Regions from separate parts of the Homo sapiens genome. Here all the other regions are linked to region 3. Evidence: promoter capture Hi-C in 16 types of primary human blood cells and fetal thymus (Javierre and others, 2016). All regions are on one chromosome and are shown on one strand. Each heading gives the region's core, a stretch centred on a gene start or on the middle of the fragment in contact. The rest is flanking DNA. Distances are from core to core; before and after follow the strand shown. Region 1 overlaps USF2 (upstream transcription factor 2, c-fos interacting). Region 2 holds the start of FFAR3 (free fatty acid receptor 3). Region 3 holds the start of KMT2B (lysine methyltransferase 2B). Region 4 overlaps CD22 (CD22 molecule).

Evidence for each region. The method cuts DNA at HindIII sites, captures the fragments that hold promoters and counts their contacts. A CHiCAGO score of 5 or more calls a contact.
Region 1: a fragment that was not itself captured here is called in contact with the fragment with the promoter of KMT2B in region 3 in 1 of 17 cell types (neutrophils); the score reaches 5.5 in neutrophils.
Region 2: the fragment with the promoter of FFAR3 here is called in contact with the fragment with the promoter of KMT2B in region 3 in 3 of 17 cell types (M0 macrophages, monocytes and neutrophils); the score reaches 5.7 in M0 macrophages.
Region 4: a fragment that was not itself captured here is called in contact with the fragment with the promoter of KMT2B in region 3 in 1 of 17 cell types (neutrophils); the score reaches 5.9 in neutrophils.

The regions. Positions count from the first base shown.
Region 1 is chr19:35,273,255-35,278,481 of GRCh38, reverse strand. The region is part of intron 7 of USF2 (upstream transcription factor 2, c-fos interacting); the gene reads right to left. Among named protein-coding and RNA genes, the nearest start is that of HAMP, 6.7 kb to the left of the region's middle. The HindIII fragment of the contact is 1,118 bases long and covers 1,524-2,641 here.
Region 2 is chr19:35,355,075-35,359,824 of GRCh38, reverse strand. It overlaps FFAR3 (free fatty acid receptor 3), which reads right to left and starts at 1,365. Exons shown (of 2, transcript NM_005304.5): 1 at 1,176-1,365; 2 at 1-945. The coding sequence starts at 934. RefSeq lists an enhancer at 1-44 and a silencer at 4,697-4,750. The HindIII fragment of the contact is 8,969 bases long and covers 1-4,750 here.
Region 3 is chr19:35,715,429-35,720,238 of GRCh38, reverse strand. It overlaps KMT2B (lysine methyltransferase 2B), which reads right to left and starts at 2,236. Exons shown (of 37, transcript NM_014727.3): 1 at 1,858-2,236; 2 at 698-770; 3 at 1-455. The coding sequence starts at 2,220. It overlaps ZBTB32 (zinc finger and BTB domain containing 32), which reads right to left. Exons shown (of 7, transcript NM_014383.3): 3 at 4,732-4,810; 4 at 4,409-4,482; 5 at 4,232-4,300; 6 at 3,942-4,106; 7 at 3,201-3,761. The coding sequence ends at 3,487. RefSeq lists silencers at 1,802-1,851, 1,902-1,981, 2,022-2,091, 2,112-2,161, 2,242-2,721 and enhancers at 1,447-2,004, 3,292-3,571, 3,124-3,683. The HindIII fragment of the contact is 14,363 bases long and covers 1-4,810 here.
Region 4 is chr19:35,332,782-35,337,398 of GRCh38, reverse strand. CD22 (CD22 molecule) reads right to left here. Exons shown (of 14, transcript NM_001771.4): 3 at 4,475-4,617; 4 at 1,058-1,363. Among named protein-coding and RNA genes, the nearest start is that of CD22, 5.9 kb to the right of the region's middle. RefSeq lists an enhancer at 1-86 and a silencer at 3,885-4,094. The HindIII fragment of the contact is 4,678 bases long and covers 47-4,617 here.

The DNA of each region.
Region 1 (5,227 bases), core at 833-3,332, 440 kb after region 3:
CATGCTTTTAGGACGGGCATCAAAGGCCAGGCACTTGGAGATCATTTTGCAGGCCTGCCCCACCATACTTGTACAAATTTTAATCGACAGTTAAAAATAAGGAAATTTCTCATGGTAATTGGCATCACTGGCTTCTTTTGAGAAATGGAGCTCTGGTCACAGTGGGCACATACTGGAAGGCAGGGATGGACAGAGCCACTCTTCGCAGGACCAGTGCCCCTTTTTGGCTCCTGCGGCCCCTGCACTGCATTCTCCAGTCTCCCCAGAGACTCTGGCACCGTGATTTTGTTTTTTTTCCTCATCTCTAAATCCAAGTCTGACCATGTTTCACCCCTGCTTAAAATCCTTCCACAGGGCAATGGCAGATCCCAACTGGTACTTGCAGCTCCCAGGGCCTGGCCCACAAAGCACCAGCTCACCCAGGAAAGACCCAAATCCTATGTTGAAGGCCAGAGATGGCAACTCATAGAAGGTTTTACTTAAAAAACCCAGATTTGTGATTTTACTCCATAAAACTCCACAATCTCATGCCAACTGTGTCAGCTGGGTGGCAGCTATCCCCAGACAGAGCACATGCCTTTCTCTGGCCACATCCCATCCTGACACCTGCCTGGGGACTGTGTGCTGCGGAGCCTGAGACCCCTGACTCAGGACCTGCTAAAGCCAGGCTGTCCCAACCCTGGCTGCCAAGCCCCAGCACCAGGCACCGTGGGGACAGGAAAGAACGCTCAGCTACCCCCAACTCCTACCCCACGGACCCCCAGCCCCCTGCCAGGGTGGCTCATGCTGTCTGCACCATTTGTGGAGGGGAACGAAGCCCTATAGCTAGGGCACATGTGGCAGGAAGGCCAGGGGGTCTTTTCAAAGCCTTGGATAATGGTGATGAAACCGGTCAGGGGTCCAGTGAGCCTGAGAAGGAGGGGTGGGCCACAGCCTGCCCGTTACCCTCACACCCCGAGATCGGCAGCTCCCCAGACCTGCCGTTCCCTTGAAAAGGCTGGGGCCCACCCACCAGCAAACCCCTCTGGCTTCTCTGGGCTGTGGCCGCATGCTGCTGACTGGCCTCTCCCTGCCTCCAGTGCCTCCCACTCAGGCCTGAGTGACAAACCCTCCGATGGATGCGGACTCTCCTTCTCCCACCGTGACCTCTCTTCCCTGGCCCCTTCCATCCTTGTGCTCCCTCTTTCCTCCAAAACCAATAGCCCAAGATCAGTGCTTGCTATGGAGCACGGTCCAGGCCCTGCACTGGGCTCAGCGAGTGCTTGCTCCCCTATTACTATCGCGGTGCGCTGAACCTTCCCACCAAAGACAACCACACCCGCCTTTGGGAACTCTGGCCAAAAGCAGCAGCGGAGCTGAGAGTCCAGGCCTGGAGGCACCGCTGGCGCAGTCCCCAGCAGAGCGCTCCTCGCCCAGGGGTCTGTGGAGGAACTCGGCAGGCGGCCTCGTTTCAGCCTCTGCCCTCCCACAGTCCTCTCGAGAGCTGGGCGCCGGCTGCAGGTACATCCTCTCCAGAGCAAGCTTACTTCTTACACACCTACTCCCCGCCCTACTATGTGCCAGGCCCTCCGCCAGGCTGGGGTCCAGGGTGGAAGCAGCCCCGGTGCGCCCCATGGGCACTCGCAGCACCACTGTGGGCAAGTGGCACTAACCCCATTGCATTCGTGTCATCACTGAAGATGGTACAAAGTGCCTCGGGAACGCCAGGCGCCGAGCCATGGCCTCTGCATGGGAATGGGGGTGGGATGAATCCTCAGAGATCCAGGAAACATTCGGGCTGGTTTCTGAGAGAAAGACTCTAAGGCAGGCAGCTGGGAAGATCCCAGAAATGGTGGCCTGAAAACCATTTCAGGGTATGCAGGGGTGGGAAAAGGTTGTAAAGATCGGTTGTCAAGGCCTTGTGTGCTCTGCTCGCAGGTCAGGACCGCATCTCCTCCTCCTCCAGAGTCCCAGGCCCTTGAATCCAGGCCCTGACATTAGCAGGCGGTAATGCTGTCCAGCCTGTGGCTTCGGAAGACCATCATGGCACATTTGAAATACAGGAAGACCCATTAGGACCAAGGCCACGTTCATTCCACAGAAGCACTTCAGTTACTCCATAGGAAACTTAAAATTCAGAAGCTGGGTGGGGTGGCTCACGCCTGTAATCCCAGCACTTTGGGAGGGTGGATCACATGAGGCCAGGAGTTTGAGACCAGCCTGGCCAACATGGCGAAACCCCGGCTCTACTAAAAATGCAAAAATTAGCCAGGCATAGCAGTGCATGCCTATAATCCCAGCGACTTGGGAGGCTGAAGCACGAGAATTGCTTGAACCCAAGAGGTGGAGGTTGTAGTGAGCCGAGACCACATCATTGCACACCAGCTTGGGTGACAGAGCGAGACTCTGTCTCAAAAAAAAAAAAAAAAAAAAGAGAAAATTCAGAAGCGAAACCTGCCAGGACTGAAGGAAGAAATGGACAAATCCACAAATATAGTGAGAGACATGGACATCTTTCTCATTGATTGGTGGAACAAGTAAACAACAACAACAAAAATCAGAATAGAAAGCCTGAACACTCAACCAGCCTGACCTCACTGACCTGGGGGGACATTCTGCCTGACAGCAGCAGACACCTGTCCTCGTCAATGCCCCAGAAGCTTCCGCCAAGCTAGGACACATTCGGGCCCGTCGGGTAAGTCTCATCGAATTTCAAGGAACTGAAATCATACAGAGTATGTTCTCTGACCATAACAGAACTAAATTAAAAATCAATAACAAAAAGATATCTGAAAAACCCACAAATATTTGGAAATTAAGCAACCTGCCTCCAAATAACAGAAAGGTCAAAGAAGAAATCACAAGGAAAATTGGAAAACACTTTAAACTGAATGATAACAAAAACAACATATCCCAGTGGGATGTAGCTAAAGTGATGCTGGAGTGAACTGGCAACTCTAAATGTTGTTAAGCAAAGAGAAAGGTTAAGAATCATCTCAATCCCTGCTGTGAAACATTAATCCTGTAAAATAAAGATTTTAGTAGAAAATTGGAAAAAAAAAAAAAAAAAGAATTACCTTAAAAAGCTGGGGTTGGGGTGTGCCAGGGAAGCTAAAGCATGAAACCTAGCAAATTGAATCCAAAGTGAGTAGAAGGGGCCGGGTGCAGTGGCTCACTCCTGTAATCCCAGCACTTTGGGAGGCTGAGGCAGGTGGATAACCTGAGGCCAGGAGTTCGAGACCAGCCTGGCCAACATGGTGAAACCCCGTCTCTACCAAAAATACAAAAACTAGCTAGGTGTGGCAGCGGGCACCTGTAGTCCCAGCTACTTGGGAGACTGAGGCAGGAGAATCACTTGAACCGGGGAGGCAGAGGTTGTAGTAAGCTGAGATTGCGCCACTGTGACAGAGCGAGATTCCATCTCAAAACAAAACAACAAACAAACAAAAAACCAAGTGAGTAGAAGCATGAATTAGTAACATTAAGAGTAGAAATCAATGAAACGGAAAAAGCAATCTAATCTGGCACCTAAAAATCAGATTTCACATAAGTCTCGATTTCTAGCTTCTCAGAGTTTCTGGCAACAGTGGCCCTAGATTCTGACAGGGCAGCAAGGGGAAGGCACTGGGCAAGGGCCACCCTTCAGGCAGCGCACACATGCCCCAGATCACTGGGGGCCCCCCACAACCTTTCCTATCTTTTTCTGACACAAGGTCTGGGTCTGTTGCTCAGGCTGGAGGGTAATCTCAGCTCACTGCAACCTCTGTCTCCCGGACTCAAGCCATCTTCCCACCACAGGTTCCCAAGTAGCTGGGACTGTTACAGGCATGTACCACCAGGCCTGGCTAATTTTTAATTTTTTTGGTAGAGACAGGGTTTTGTCACATTGCCTAGGATGGTCTCAAACTCCTGGGCTCAAGTGATCCGTCCGTCTTGGCCAAAATGTAATCCCAAAAGTGCTGGGATTCCGGGCGGGAGCCACCACACCCAGCCACACACCCCTTCCTGAGATGCCAAGTGCACCTCCCTCCCTCAGGCCCCTGCAGGCATTTGAGTCTGTGACTCTGGGATAAGCTCCTGCAGTACCAAGAAGTGGTGGGAAGGAGGGAAAAAGAAGTGAGAGAAGCGGATCTGAAATCACCACAGAAGAGAAACTTGGGGTTTGTGGCCATAAGGGAAGAAGAGGGCAGAGTTGAAAGCGGCTCTGGTCTTAGTTTCTGGCTTGGGCAGCTGTGACAGGGGTAGCTTTTGCTGCTCTGCAAAGAAGAAGGTTGCATGAAAGCCTTTGGAGACGGGAGATGGCACATTCTCTTTTGGGCGAGTTGAGTTTGAGGCATTACAGGGATGTCCAGAGACAGAAATCTCGAATAGGTAGTTCAAAACGTGGGGCTGGAGTTGCAGTGAAAGGAAGGGAATGGATGGAAACACAGTTCCTTGCATTACCAGGAGCCAGGTGGTGGGCGAAGCCTGGGAGGACATCAAGGAACAGTCCTCAACTTTTTGTGAGTCACACACTCTTCTGCAGCAAAGAAAAAAGAGGAACACCTACAAGGGGGAACAGAGTTTGGGGGATACTGACCAAGAGCTTCCGAGCCCATCGCTGGGCCTCACAAGTCATACACCTGAGGCCGACGGGAGGGGCCGGACCTTATGAAACACCAGCAAGACTGGGTGTGGCAGCTCAGGCCTGTAGCCGAGGCCGGAGGACTGCCTGAGGCCAGAAGTTCAAGACGAGCCTGGGCAGCATAGCAAGACCTCCACTCTACAGATAAAAAAAAATTACCCCATGTGATGACGCCTGCCTGTGGTCCCAGCCACTCAGAAGCCTGAGGTGTGAGGATCGCTTGAGCCTGGGAGGTCAAGGCTGCAGTGAGCTGTGATTGTGCCACTGTACTCCAGCCTGGGTGACAGAGTGAGACCCCCTTCTCAAAAAAAAAGAAACACTCGCAGCCAAAGCAGTTTCTCAAGCTTGTCCACTATGACAAATCACCTGAAGAGCTGATGGAAAACACAGATTCCCCGGCACCCCCATCTACTCACTTGGAACTGGGACAGCCCTGGAAATTTCACTGTTAACAGTGGGGTAGGAAAGGCAAAGATCACAGGAGAATCAGAGAGGATGGAGGAGAAAGGAAGATTCCAGAAAGGAACAGAGGGAAACAGGCAGCATCAGATGCTTGGAGCCCAGACAGCAAAGGAGGCCAGTGGATGTGGCAATGGGGTCACCACGGGTGACCGGAAGTGGAGC
Region 2 (4,750 bases), core at 116-2,615, 360 kb after region 3:
GCTCCTTCAGCTCCATGCTGCTCTCCTGCTGCCACTGGCCCCAGAGCCCACACAACCTCCTCAGCAGCTCATGAAAGTCGGCTTGGAACCCGGAGGAGGAGAAGTAGTAGACAAAGGGGTCGACACAGGAGTTCAGGGTGCTGAGAAGCGTCACGTAGATCCTCCACGCCGGGCTTTCACCGCAGATATAGCCCACGACATGGGACACGTTGTAGGGCCCAAAGCAGACAAGGAAGTTGAGCAGCGTGGCCGCCAACAGCCCCGCCACCCTCCTCTGCCGGCGGTGGCTGCCCCCTCTGCCGAGGATCCACACCAGGCGGCTGTAGCAGTAGCTGGTGATGATCAGCGGGACCACAAAGAGGACCACAGCCATCTCCAGCCGCACGGGCAGGAGGATGGCTAGCTGGTCCTTCCGGAACTCCAGGTAGCAGGTCCCATTGGTGCCCTGGCTGTGGGAGATGTCCCCTGAGAATTCTATGACGTAGACCACGCTGCAGTGAGCAGAGGCCAACAGCCAGCAGGCCACACTCACCAGACCTGCCTGCCCCAGCCTCGGCCGGGTCTTGTACCACAGTGGGTGGGCCACACTCAGGAAGCGTTCAATGCTCACAGCTGCCAGGAAGAGGGCGGTGAGATAGATGGTGGTGAAGAAGATGAATCCAGAGAGTGGGCAGAGGATGAAGGGCAGGGGCCAGTGCATGCCATTGGCTGCCTCCACCATGCGGAAAGGCAGGAACAGCAGCAGGAGCAGGTCCGAGGCGGTCAGGTTGAGCAGGAGCACGTCCACGGCCACCGGGCGGCGCTGCAGCTTGCCCACGAAGACCACCAGGGCCAGCAGGTTGAGGGGGAGCCCCACCAGGAAAGTGAGAAGGTACACCGAGAAGACGAACCAGTGATTGCCGGAGAAGTAGGACTGGTCGGGGCCTGTATCCATGGTGGTGGCCACTGGTGAGAGAGAGTAACATGGAGTTGGTAGTGGGGGCCCTAACGGCCTCTGGCCAGCAGCATCTCCCCTAAAAGGGCACGAGGTCACTACGCCCACCCCTCTTGTCTCTGGGTGCCTTCCAGGCGGGGTCAGCCTGCCTGTCTTCCTGAGCATGCCCTGTCCCCTGTCCCTTCCCCAGCAGAGAAGCACCAAGGTGCTCCTCCACCCAGCCCCTCGGGCCCAGGCTCACCTGCTTCTTTGAGACCCCAAATGCTCTGCCGCACAGCACCTTGCTGTCTCTCCAGACCTAGTGCAGTTGGCTATTTATCCGGCAGAACTGATAAAGACCTGGCCGTGCCCATGACGTCACTCACTGTTGAGCAGTGGCACATAGATGCCTTGAGCTCCGTTGCCAGGGCTGGTCAGCATGCTAAAAGGGGAACAAATTCCACAACTGCGTGCCTCCCTCCTCATGCAGTCTCAGCTGGGATGCTCTAAGCAGGCCCCAGCCGACGTCTTCCTCTCCCCTTCTTCACTTGAATTTTGTCTGCTTCTCTAGAATGGCATTTATCCAATTTGCCTTGTAAGGGCAGGAAGTGTGATGCAATGACAGAGAGCGAGCTCCGTGAGGTCTGTTTCTTCCTGACTTTGTGATTTGGGGGAAATGACTTAAATTCTCCATGTTTCTGCTTTCTCCCCTGCAGAACAGAGCTCATCATAATACCCATCTCATAGATCAACGCATTAACACATGCAAATTAAAACAATATGTAGGTCGATTAAAAGATTACTAATACATGTTGAGTGGTTTGACGGAAGCCTGGCGTGTGGTCGTGAGCAGGCAGCGGATGCCAGCTGCTATTTTCCCTGTCACTGGTGCAGGATTATCTCTGGGGTGACAATGTAATAATAATAACAATAATAATGGTGGTGGCGATGATGACAGCAGCTGCCTTTTCATGGGCACATAATCCATAGCAGACACTGCTTCTAGGGCAACGCTTTTATGTCATAAAATCCTTGTCCTTCACCGTAGGGAAGTGACTTGCTCCAGGTGATACAGCTTGTGAAATGTCACCACTAGGGTTCAAACCCAAGTGCTGTCCAGTTTCACAGGTGATCTATTAGTTCATTCAAACAATCACAGGGCACAATGAGATATGATTTCACATCCACTAGAATGGCCACAAGCAAAAAGTCAGACAATGCCTATGGTCGGCGAGAATGTAGAGAGATAGGGGCCTCATTCACTGCTGGTGAGAATAATGGGAGGTGGTGTCCCTGCTTTGGAAAGCAGGTGGCAGTTGCTTAAAAAGTTAAACATAAATTCACCATGCGATCCAACAATTCCACCGTAGGTATTTACTTAAGAGAAGTGGAAACTCAGGTCTACTTAAAGACTCAGTCCTAAATGTTCACAGCAGTGTTGGTCATAGTCACCAACAGTGGAAATGTTACCTGGCAGCCCATCAGCTGGTGAGTGAATAAAAAAGTGGCACATCCATATACTGGAATTCTATTTGGCAAAGAAAAGGAATGAGCTACCCATACACACTACAGCCTTATGTTGAGTGAAACAAGCCAGACGTAAAAGACCATGTACATATATTGTCAGATTTCATTTATTTATATGATATGTCCAGAATAGGCAAAGTTATAGAGTCAGAAAGTAGACTCGTGGTTGTCTGGGGGATGGAGGTAGAAATGAAGATTAAGTTGTTTTTTTTTTTTTTTTTTTTTTTTTGAGACAGGGTCTTGTTGTCGCCCAGGCTGGAGTGCAATGGTGCAATCTTGGCTCACTGCAAACTCTGCCTCCCGGGTTCAAGAAATTCTCATGCCTCAGCTTCCTAAGTAGCTAGGATTACAGGTGCCCGCCACCACGCCTGGCTAATTTTTGTATGTTTAGTAGAGATGAGGTTTCGCCATGTTGGCCAGGCTGGTCTCGAACTACTGACCTCAGGTGATCCGTCCACCCCAGCCTCCCAAAATGCTGAGATTATAGGCGTGAGCCACCCCGCCTGGCCCAAGATTAAGTTTAAATGAACATGAAGTAAAATCCTTTACTAGGGTCATGAAAATGTTCTAAAACTAGCTGATGGTAATGGACTCACACCTCAGTAAATTTACTAAAAATCATTGAATTGTACACTTAACATTGGTGAATTTGATGATATGTACATAATATCTCAATTAAGCTGTTAAAAGTGCAGCAGTAGGCTGGGTACGGTGGCTCAGGTCCGTAATTTTAGCACTTTGGCAGGCTGAGGTGGGAGGATTGCTTGAGCACAGGTTGTTTGAGACTAGCCTGGGCAACATGAGGAGACCCTATGTCCACAGGGGAAAAAAAAAAAAAAAAGAGAGAAAGAAAAAAGAAATTAGCTGGGTTTAGTGGCATGTGCCTCTGGTCCCAGCTACTTGGGAAGCTGAAATGGAAGAATCGCTTGAGCCCAGGAATTCAAGGCTGCAGTGAGCCATGACTGTGTCACTGCACTCCATCCTGAGCAACAGAGTGAGACTGTGTCTAAAAAAAAAAAAAAAAAAAAAAAACAACACGCAGTTGTGAACAAAAAGTTTTTGCTGTCATGCTGTTTACATTACATTTGGTGGTGAGGGCTTGGGGGATGGAGTAGGGGAAGGATCATGAAGACGTGGATACTGAAGAGGCAAAGAGCCACTGGAGGGAACATTGGGGCAGGGGAGTCACGGGTGCACAGACTTGGCCTGCTGGGGGAGCTGATAGGAGGTTTGGGTCTCACAGGAGTGAGAGGCGCCTGGGGTGGATCACACTGAGTCTCCTGGGCCCCAGGGAGGCACTGGATTTGCCCTAAGTGGGGGGAGGCAGGAGGAACTGGGAGAAGCAGCCCAGTACCCAGCAGGGGCTATGGAGCAGGAGTCAAAGAGAGTGGGCCCTGGCACCCTGTGATGCGGGAGGAGGCACTGGGGCTCCCTGGGGTGGAGTTTGGGTTTTTACTGAAATTCCCTGGTGTTGTCACTGCACAAGTGCCGGGCTTGTTTCTGGCTTCCAAAAGAAGTTACTTAATTTCTCTGGCCTGTTTCCATATTGATAAAACAGACATAGAACTTTCTTTGGAAGGCTAGTAGAGGCATTCATTCATTCATTGAGCGAACATTTACTGAGCACCTACTGCGTGCCACTCTGTCTTCTGGGCGCTGGGGATATATCATCAATTACAAGAAAAATCCTTGCATGCGTAGACATTTCAGCCTGAACAGAGCTCATTTGTAGAAATTGGTGCGTGCACCCCAGCTGGTGGCTGCCATTTGTTGTGCTCCAATACATCATCATGTGCATGGCATTGCTGTAATTTAGAGCAGGTGCCCAGGTGTCTGTCTCCTTCACAGCCACAGCCACTCCCTTCTGACCTCCCTCTCATGGATGTGGGATGCTATCCTTTGCGAAATGGACCACAAATACAGGGTTAACCCCCACACCCCCAGGTTTCCCAAATGTCCCCTGGCTCTTGGGGGTTCTGCTTGGAAGGATCACATCCTGCTTTTACCCCTTCCTTGCTGTAGGGCCTTAGGCAAGTTTCTTCATCCCATTCCAGGATCGTAGCTACCTGGTGCAGCACCTTTGTGCAAATTAGGTGCTCCCTTTCCAGAGGAGCCCATCCCGCACCAAGTGCTGCCTAAGGAGTGGCTGGTGTATTTCTTCAAATTAGAACACAATACTCCTTCCCTTGATGCAAGCAAGGCAGGCATGTGGCTTGTTGAGCAAAGCACAGGCTAGAATTTAGTCAGTGTTTGCTCCTCTGCCCAGTACCTTCGTGTAGTGAACACCCGCTCATCCGTACGGCAGTGGCA
Region 3 (4,810 bases), core at 987-3,486:
TCGGCCGCGGCCCCTGCCTCCACGGCCTCCACGGCTTGACTGTCCTCCACGCCTGGGGGTCCCAGGTCCTGGACCGGGCCCCTCCTTGCATTTCCAGCTGCCAGTCTGATGTTTCACTGGAACCACAGGAGGTGGGGGCTCAGGTTTGGGGATTGTCACAGCTGCTTCTGCCACCACTACTGCTTGCTGCTTCCTCCTGCAGGGGCCTGCTGGCCGTCCTGGGGGCCGTCCCCGAGACCGCCGGGGGGTGGAGGGCTCACATGCCCGGCTCCGGGGTGCTTGGGGTGCCTGGGCCCGCCGGAGAAGTTCAGTCAGTGCCTGCACCATCCGTTCTGTGCCTTCCTCACCCCGTTTCCGGGCAGGGGTCTTTGGGGGGGTAGGAGCCACATCTGCTAGGCGAGGAGGAGGAAGGGGGGTCGTCTTATGCTTGCGACCCCGACCTCGGGGCGCTCGACCTAAAAGGAGAATAGTTGTGGGGAGATGGATCAAGCCAGCCCTACACACAGAGGAAGGCGCTCCAGGAGGGCAGGGACTAAGTCTTGCTTGTGTGTTTCCCCCGCTGCCCAGACTAGCTTGGACTCTGAACACAGAACACATTCGGCAACTGACAGAGGCTAGTTGAACAGGGAAGAGCTGACACGAAGGGCGAGGATAAATTCCTGTGACGCTAAAGAGGTGGAGTTCCCCCGTCACTCACCTCGCTGGGATCGGAGCGCAGAGCGCAGGGAACTGGGGGCCACATCTTCATCTGAATGAAAACCCTGAAACTCCTGATTTAGGGGACCGGGGTGGAGGGGAGAAACAGCAGTCAGTGCCAAAGCCCTCGTTCCATCTGAGGTATCGAGGAATATCCCCAGTTCCCACTTAGCATACCCCTGCCTATTTAAAAAGAACGAAAAAGACTCAAAGGTCGCGGGTAGTGGAAGAGAGGGTCTCTCCCTAGGGATGGAGGCGCCAGGTATTTCGAACTCCGATCCCCAGTGCCGGACCACACCAGCACAGCCAAAGCCATGGTTCACTGGCCCAAGAGAGAAGACGACAGGGTCTCCTCAGGAAAGGCAGCAGGCCCCATACTCAGATTCCTTCAGAGTCCAATTCAGACCAAAGTGGGACCTCCACTGACACCCTTTCGGGCCACAATTTATTTCTGCATTAAGTTGGGAACAGGGGCCCGCAAGTGAAGGGGCGGGGAGGGCATCAGATGGCTTTCGTACAGGCTCCACTGCGAGCTCTCAGGTTGTTATTAACCGTCCAGGGCAACGCAACCCACACCTTCCTGCCTGTTCTGAAAGGCTGGGGGAGAAATCCTGAGCTGAGCTCTGACCTGCTAGAGTGCCCAGTCCCGGCCTTCATCCCACTCCTGTTCAACCCGAGCCCCAAGAGGAAGCCCTCCACCACTCTACCTGAGATGCCAAGAGAAACTGGGGCCCTGGAGAAACCAGGAGGTTGCGAGGCCCGGCGGGGCGGCCCACAGGTAAGAGCCCAGACAGCTCCAACCTGTCTGCCAAGGCCACGCTGCCGCTGTCAACCACGACTGGCTGGACATGCAGTCCCCACTGCCTCCTCGCCCAAACCTCCACCGCCCTAGCTTTGCCAGCTGCCGAAAAGGATCGGCCCAAGACACTTCAGCGGGACCGACATCGGGCGCGAGTGCCTGGCTGCAGCCGGGGCTTCTCTACCCACTTCCAGAGGCCCTTTCCCCCGGAAGCTGCATGCAGCCGCCCTCCCTCCGTGCCCCGTCTCTCCGAAGGAACCCTGAGGACCCGGCCTGCCCACGCCGCCCCCGGGACAACCCAGACCCCTGGAAGCCCCGGCCTCCGCCCCACCCGGCGCCGGGGACGCCTCCAACCGCCTCACCTCCTCGTCGGATTCCCCGTCACTGCTCTCCTCCTCCGGCACGCAGCCTCGACTCGGGCCCCAGCCCCGGCCCCGACCCCGTCCCCGGCCCCGCTGGACCCGCGGGCCGGCCCACAGGCGGCGGAGCCGGCGCAGGCCCCGGCGGAGCCCCAGCAAACGGAGCAGGGCCGTGTCCTCCCCGGGCTCGGCTCCGCCCGGCCCCGTCGCGCCACCGCCGCGCCGCAGAGCTACCCGCACTCTTTCGGCCCCGTTGCCCCGTCCGCCGCGGCCCCCGCCCCCGCCGGCGCCCCGCGGCCGGCCCGGGAAGCGGCCCCGCGCGGAGCCAGGCCCGGGGCAACTGCCGCCGCCCGCCGCCGCCGCCATCTTGGCACCGTGAGAGGGGCCGGGGAGGCGGGGGGAGGGGCGGCCCGTGCGCAGGGCCGGGGGGAGGGGAGAGAGCGGGGGCGGGGCGGGGCGGCCGCGGCGCACGACAACAACCAGCGCCGCCGCGGGAGACCGGGGGCCGGGCCGGCCACGCGCAGGGCACCACGGGAGAGGGAGTCCGCGGCCGGCCGGCGCCCTCGGACCGCACCTGGGGAGCACAGACCCCCGCGTCGCGGCCGCAGAGGGGCGAACCGCGGGGGCCTCCGGGAAATGTAGTCCGGACGCCTCGCTTCTTCCGCCGGCAGCCAGGGCGCGAGGGCCGGGACGGCGGGGTTCCCGGCCAGGACCCGGAAAGCGGGTTGCCGGGTCTCCGGGAGGTGTGGTCCTAGCCCCAGGCTCCTCCCATTGTTCTTGGCTAGGCCGGCGGCCCGCGTGGACTACCACTCCCAGGGTGCCGCGGGCTCGGGCCCCGGGACCCCCGAGGCCCTGGGAAATGCAGTTCGCGGCTGCAGGAGGCGTGGGCTGGAGAAGGAGCGGTGGAAAGCATAGTCAGTCTCCGTTCCAGGCGCGACCTGGCGGCGGCTTGGCACGGTGTGGAGGGAAGACGCCGGAGAGGCCGCGGTCTCGGGGTCCGTGTGCTCCCGGAGAGGAGGCGGGTGGCCGAAAGCAGGGTCGGAGCACGCGTTCCTCTCTCTCCCGGGCCGAGCGTTCCCAGATCAGACTCCGCGCGCCGTGGATTGCAGTGGAAGGGGCGAGTGACTTGCGGTCGCACAGCCCCCACCAGTCCAGGACCGGCATGCCGCAAGGTGTGCCCGGACACCGAGTCCTCGGGGCCGGCTGCCTCCTGGGGAGGACGGGGCGCCTCGGGGGTGGAAGAAGTGTCCATCCCGCTGGACAGCGGACGCAGGGCCACCAGGGGCCGCTACAGGACAAGGGGCGTGGGCGGGGGTGTGCACAGACTAAACTCGGCTTTCTAGTCCTGAAGGGAGGGCACAGGAAACTCTTTATTATGGTGATGAGATCGACAATCTCCCCTACTGTTAACCTTCGCTCCTGCACACTTCAGTGTCCTCACTCTGTAGGGCTCGCTGGCCTGGGCTTCTGCGACCCGCGATCGTCCAGGAGAGGGCACTCGGCGCCCTTCCTGGGGCGCTTCTGGGGCGGAATTTGCTAGGCCGCCGTAGCAGCGGTGCCAGGTCAGAAGCCGAGCCGGCCCGCTTTTCGTTCTTTAATTGGACTCTTGGCTAAGACGCTACCGACACCCCGTCAGGTGGTGGAGGAAGAAGGACAACAGGGAGAGGTCGAGGGCCGAGACGGCCTCGAGGAGGAGTAGAGGAAGGTGGAGCGGATGGTCCATCCGGGCGGGAGTTGGCTGGGCGAGTGACCGCGCATGTGCGCCTGCATGGAGGCCAGGCTGGGACAGCCGGCCCCGCACAGGGAGCAGCGGTACGGAGCGGCCCCGTGTGTCCGCAGGTGCTTGGTCATGGCCGAGAAGTCCCGGGAGCGCTGAGGACAAAGGCTACAGGAGAAGGGCTTCTCTCCTAGAGCGGTCGGAAGGGGAGGCCGGTGAAGGAAGGAAGAAGGCGGCGAAAGCTGGCCAAGTTAGGGGTGGATCGGGCCACGGGGCTAGGGGATTGCGCGGGAACCGGGCACACAGGTGGAGACTCAGGAGCGGAGTTGGGAAGAAAGCCGACAGTTCACACAGGGCAGGGCGCCCATACCTGTGTGGACTCGGTAGTGCGTCTCCATCTGATGCTTGAGTGAAAACCTCTTTCCACAGACAGAGCACGCATAGGGCCGAGACCGAGCAGGAGGGGCCGGGGGAGGGTGCGGGCGAGGTGGGCAGCCTGCCTTGTCCTCATGACCCGCACAGGTTGCAAGTGCGCCTGTGGGGACAGAGAAGGCAAAGGAGGGCAGGGCCAGGAATCCCAGCGCCAACTCACTGTACCATTCAGGCAGGAAATCAAGGGCTACAGTGGGGCTGAGGCACGAGTGCCCCCGCCCGACTCACCTGTGTGCCCCTGATCAGACTCTTCCATCTCCCCAGGGCTGAGCTGTGCGGGGCCCTGGGGGAGGGAACCTGGAAGGAACAGTGGGAGGTAGGGGCCCTGCTCAGGCTGGACTCCTCGAGCCCCAGCCCAGAGAAGACACCATGTTACAGGTGTATGCAGGACAGCGAGGGGCTTACCTGGGGTAGGGCTGGAGGAGGCCAACTGGTTCTGGCTCCAGAGCCCTTTGGGGGCATTTAGGGACAGTGGGATCCTGGGATGGGGTGGGGAAGAGTTACAGCCTTGGCTAAACCTGGGAGCCTGGCCCCTTCGTGAAGAGGGGGTATCCCAAGTCCTCCCCCGGGGGCTGGGCTTTGGCGTGCCCTGTGGCAGCAGCTTCTTGTCTCTTCCCCAGCTCAGGAACTGTGCAGTAGAGATGCAGTGCCCTTCCACCCAGCAGGGCTGCCCCTCCTGGGCCATGCCCTCCCAGCCTGGAGGCAGAGCACTAGACCCCGCCACTCACCTCTGTTCCCGCCAGACCTCCTGCCAGGCTCCAGTGGTGGGGGTGCTATGGTAGAAGGGAATGCCATATCTGGGCGGCA
Region 4 (4,617 bases), core at 1,136-3,635, 380 kb after region 3:
AACTTCAGCCTCTGAGGTCCTCCCACCCAGCTGCTGCCTCAAAGCTTTGAACCTGCCCTTCTCTTTCCCTGAAATCCTCCTCTCCCAAATATGTGCCGGCCTCAGCCACTCCCTCCGTTCCAGTCAGCTTAAGTGCTCACCTTCTTTTTTTTTCTTTTTTTGAGATGGAGTCTCACTCGTCACCCAGGTTGGAGTGCAGTGGTGCGATCTCAGCTCACTGCAAGCTCCGCCTCCTGGGTTCATGTCATTCTCCTGCCTTGGCCTCCCAAGTAGCTGGGACTACAGGCGCCTGCCATCATGCCTGGCTAATTTTTTGTATTTTTACTAGAGATGGGGTTTCACCATGTTAGCCAGGATGGTCTCGATCTCCTGACCTTGTGATCCCCCCGCCTCGGCCTTCCAAAGTGCTAGGATTACAGGCGTGAGCCACCGCACCCGGCCTAAGTGCTCACCTTCTTAGAGAGGTCTCTCTCCATCACTCCCCTCTCTCGGCCTTATTTTTTTCCTAACACACATATCACTACCTACAATAGTGTTGTATATTTCTTTGTTAACATTGCTTTGTTCCAGATTCTAATGTCTTGGCTCATGCTCTGTATTTCTTTGGTAATCCATTTGTTGTCTGTCTCTTTCACTGCAGCGCTGGCTCCGCGTGGGGCAAGAGTTTTGCTCACTGCTGCACCCTGCCCACCGCCCCATGCCCCCCATTGGCAGCCGTAATAAGGCCTGGTACCTAGTAGGTTCATGATACGTATTTATTGAATGAATGAGGCACAAGATAATGATGCGAAAAAAATCCCCACCAAGAGGGGAACAAAAAGACCTAACCAGATAATCCCCAATTCATGTCATGGCTTGAGGATGGACCATTTTATTCTGTTAGGCTAGAGCAAATCTTTTTCCCGAAACACCAGGGCTGACAAGGCGGCGTGACCAGGGCTGGAGGATGCCGCCGTCTGTGCAGGCTTCCCCCTGCCCTGGGTGCATGCCCCCTGCGGGGCTGGGGAGAAGGTGACACAGACCTTGCCCTTCCCACAGGCATGCCGGGGAGACTCACGCTTCACGTTCAGCTGCACCGTGTCATTGGAGAGGAACTTCCCATCTGCATCCTGAAGCTGGCAGGTCACAATCTTCCCATGGTGACTCCACTGTGGGGAGAACTTGAGCTCGCTCCGGGTGAAGACAGACTTGATGGTCAAGGAGGTCGAGGTGACAGCAGCCTGCCTCATTGGAACCCCCTCTAGGAGCCACTGCAATTGGATCGGATACCCATAGCAGGAGAAATTCAGCAAGCAGGTCAGAGTGACTTCCTGGGACTCTTGAATTTCTGGAGGGAGCTGGATATGAGGTGGAAAAGGCCTTTCTGCAAAAGAACAGAGCCCGTGCAGGAGCCTGGGGGACTGAGGACGTGAGCGTACACCTGGCTTTAGATGTCCTGTCCCAAATCACCCCTCAGGAACCCCTTGCCACTTCATTCCACCTCTCTCCAGTCCTGCTTTGTTTTTTTGTTGTTATTGTTGTTGTTGTTGTGTTGTTGTTTTTTTGAGATGGAGTTTCCCTCTGTCACCCAGGCTGGAGTGCAGTGGCGCGATCTTGGCTCGCTGTAACCTCTACCTCCCCAGTTCAAGTGATCCTCCTGCCTCAGCCTCCCGAGTAGCTGGGATTACAGGTGCCCACCACCACACCCAGCTAATTTTTCTGTATTTCTAGTAGAGACAGGGTTTCGCCATGTTGGCCAGGCTGGTCTTGAACTCCTGACCTCAAGTGATCCTCCCGCCTTGGCCTCCCAAAGTGCTGGGATTACAGGTGTAAGCCACCACACCCGGCCTCTTTTTTTCTTTAGAGACAGGGTCTTGCTTTGTCACCCAGGCTGGAGTGCAGTGGCGCAATCCTAGCTCACTGTAGCCTCAACCTCCTAGGCTCAAGCAATCCTCTCACCTCAGCCCCCTGAGTAACTGGGACTACAGGCATGTGCCACCACACCTAGCTAGTTTTTTAAACATTTTGTAGAGACAGGGTCTTGCCATGTTACCCAGGCTGGTCTCAAACTCCTGGGCTCAAACGATCCTCCGATCTCAGCCTCCCAAAGTGCTGGGGTTACAGGCGGGAACCACTGCACCCAACGCAGTCCTGCTTTTCTCCACTTTGAATCACTTTTGCTCACCCGAAATCCCCTCTGAAAGGCCTTGACCACACTAAGCCTCCTTGGGAACTGTGATCTACTTTTCTTTCATGCTCATTGCCGGATGTCTGCTTTCTGAATGATTGCAAAGTTCTATTCCCACCACCTCACCACCTCTTTTTTTTTTTTTTTTTTTTTTGAGACAGAGTCTCGCTCTGTCGCCCGGACTGGAGTGTAGTGGCGTGATCTCAGCTCACTGCAAGCTCCACCTTCCGGGTTCACGCCATTCTCCTGCCTCAGCCTCCTGAGTAGCTGGGACTACAGGCGCCTGCCACCACGCCTGGCTAACTTTTTGCATTTTTAGTAGAGACAGGGTTTCACTGTGTTAGTCAGGATGGTCTCGATCTCCTGACCTTGTGATCCGCCTGCCTCGGCCTCCCAAAGTTCTGGGATTACAGGCGTGAGCCACCGTGCCCGGCCTATTCCCACCACCTCTAAGTGAATTTTATCAGTTTAGTTCACGGACTTTTCAGCTTTGACAAACTTGTGTTACTTTCATGGCTTCCTTCAGTATTGCAGCCATCCACGCACCGCATTCCTTTAGTGGAGTGGGTCTGTGTGCACCCAGCCTCAGCTCTCCCCAAGGCTGGACCACCTCCTTCAGACAGCGGGGTCTGAAGTTGCATTGCTCACCCCAAATTTAAGGCTGCTCAGAACTGCCCATCCGGGAAACGGTGTGGAACGGAGTGACCACACTCCCTGTGGCAGGGGCCCCCCACACCTGTGTTTGATGGGTCAAAGCCACCCCTACATGTGCAGTGCTATAACTGAACCTATGTTATAAAAATTATAAGATGTTCGTTTTACTTCTTTTCTTTTCTCTTTGTCCTTTCCTTCCTCCATGCATGATTAGTTACATTTGGTCATTTCAGTAGCAGGTAACCATTAATTCACTCATAATTGTTTAACTTACATCCTGACTCCCTGGCAGCTGCCTGCAAGATAAATGAACTTGTCTCTCTTTCAAAGAACAATGATCCTTAGGTCACACAGACCTCCTTGATGACATCCAGAAATTTGATGAGCCGAGGGGCACAACAGCTTTGACGATCGGGAGGTCACCTCCTGCACACCTACTTTACTCATAAAAGCCCCCACTAACGCTCAAAGTCAGGTCAGATTTGAGAGTTTCTCTCTTCTGTCCCCTTGCTTTGGCTAAATTAAATAATCCTATCTCAGCTTCTAAGCACTGAGGTGTCAGTGTTTGGCTGACTACGCATCGGGAGCTCAAACCTGGCCTTTGGGGTTCAACAACAGTGTCATCTGACCTTGAAGAGCTCATGAGAACTTGCCATGAACATTAACATGCTGGGAGATTTCACTGGAAAATCTAGATTTCCATCGTCTCTTGAAAAATCAGAAGATCAGGCCGGGTGCGGTGACTCATGCCTGTAATCCTAATGCTTTGAGAGGTTGAAGCAGGAGGATTGCTTGAGGCCAGGAGTTCAAGACCAGCCTGGCAACATAGCAAGACCCATTTCTACAACAAATTAAAAAGTTAGCTGGGCATGGTGGCATGCACCTGTGATCCTAGCTACTTTGGAGGTGGGAGGATTGCTTGAACCCGGGAGATCAAGGCTGCAGTGAGCTGAGATCGCGCCACTGCACTCCAGCCTGGGTGATGACAGTGCGAGACCCTGTCTCATAAAAAGGGAAAGGAAGGGGAAGGGGAAAAGAAGAGGAAAAAAAGTAAAACAAACATTTTATGATTTTTATAACACAGGCTCAGTTATGGCACTGCACATGTAGGGGTGGATTTGACCCATCAAACACAGGTCTGGGGCCTCTGCCCTAGGGAGTGTGGTTACTCCGTTCCACACCCAGTTTCCTCTATAGGGAGCTCTGAGCAGCCCTAAGTTTGGGGTGAGCGATGCAGCTTCAGACCCCAATGTCTGAAGGGGGCGGTCCAGCCTGGGGGAGAGCTGAGGCTGGTTACATGCAGACCCACCCCACTAAAGGAATGCGGTGCTTGGATGGTTCCAGTACTAAGGCCAAACACGAGTTTGTCACAAAAGCTGAAAAATACATGGTGAGAAAGAAAGAGGGAAAGATCAGGAGATCCGATAACTTTGGAATCCAGGTCCCAGAGGGGCAGGAACTGAGGGTCAGATGGGACATCCGAGGTCCCGCAGCTCTGTCTAGTGCTGCTGCATCGCCATCGTCATCCGCTGGCGTCCCCTGCCTGAGCTCTGCAGGAAGCTCGGTTTGTGAGCTCTGTGCCAGGAGTCAGGTATTTCCTGCCTCCCACTCACCCCTGCCCAGAGCAGAGGACCCGCTCCCCGAAGGCCTTACCAGAGACATTGAGGTGTATTCGTTCCATCCATTTCTCAGTCTTGGACTCCATCCTCAGCCCCAGCTGACCACTGTCATTGAGGTGCACCGGGTGGATACTCAGTGTGCAGTTCTTATTCTTGTCTCCCAGGAATTGCACCCTT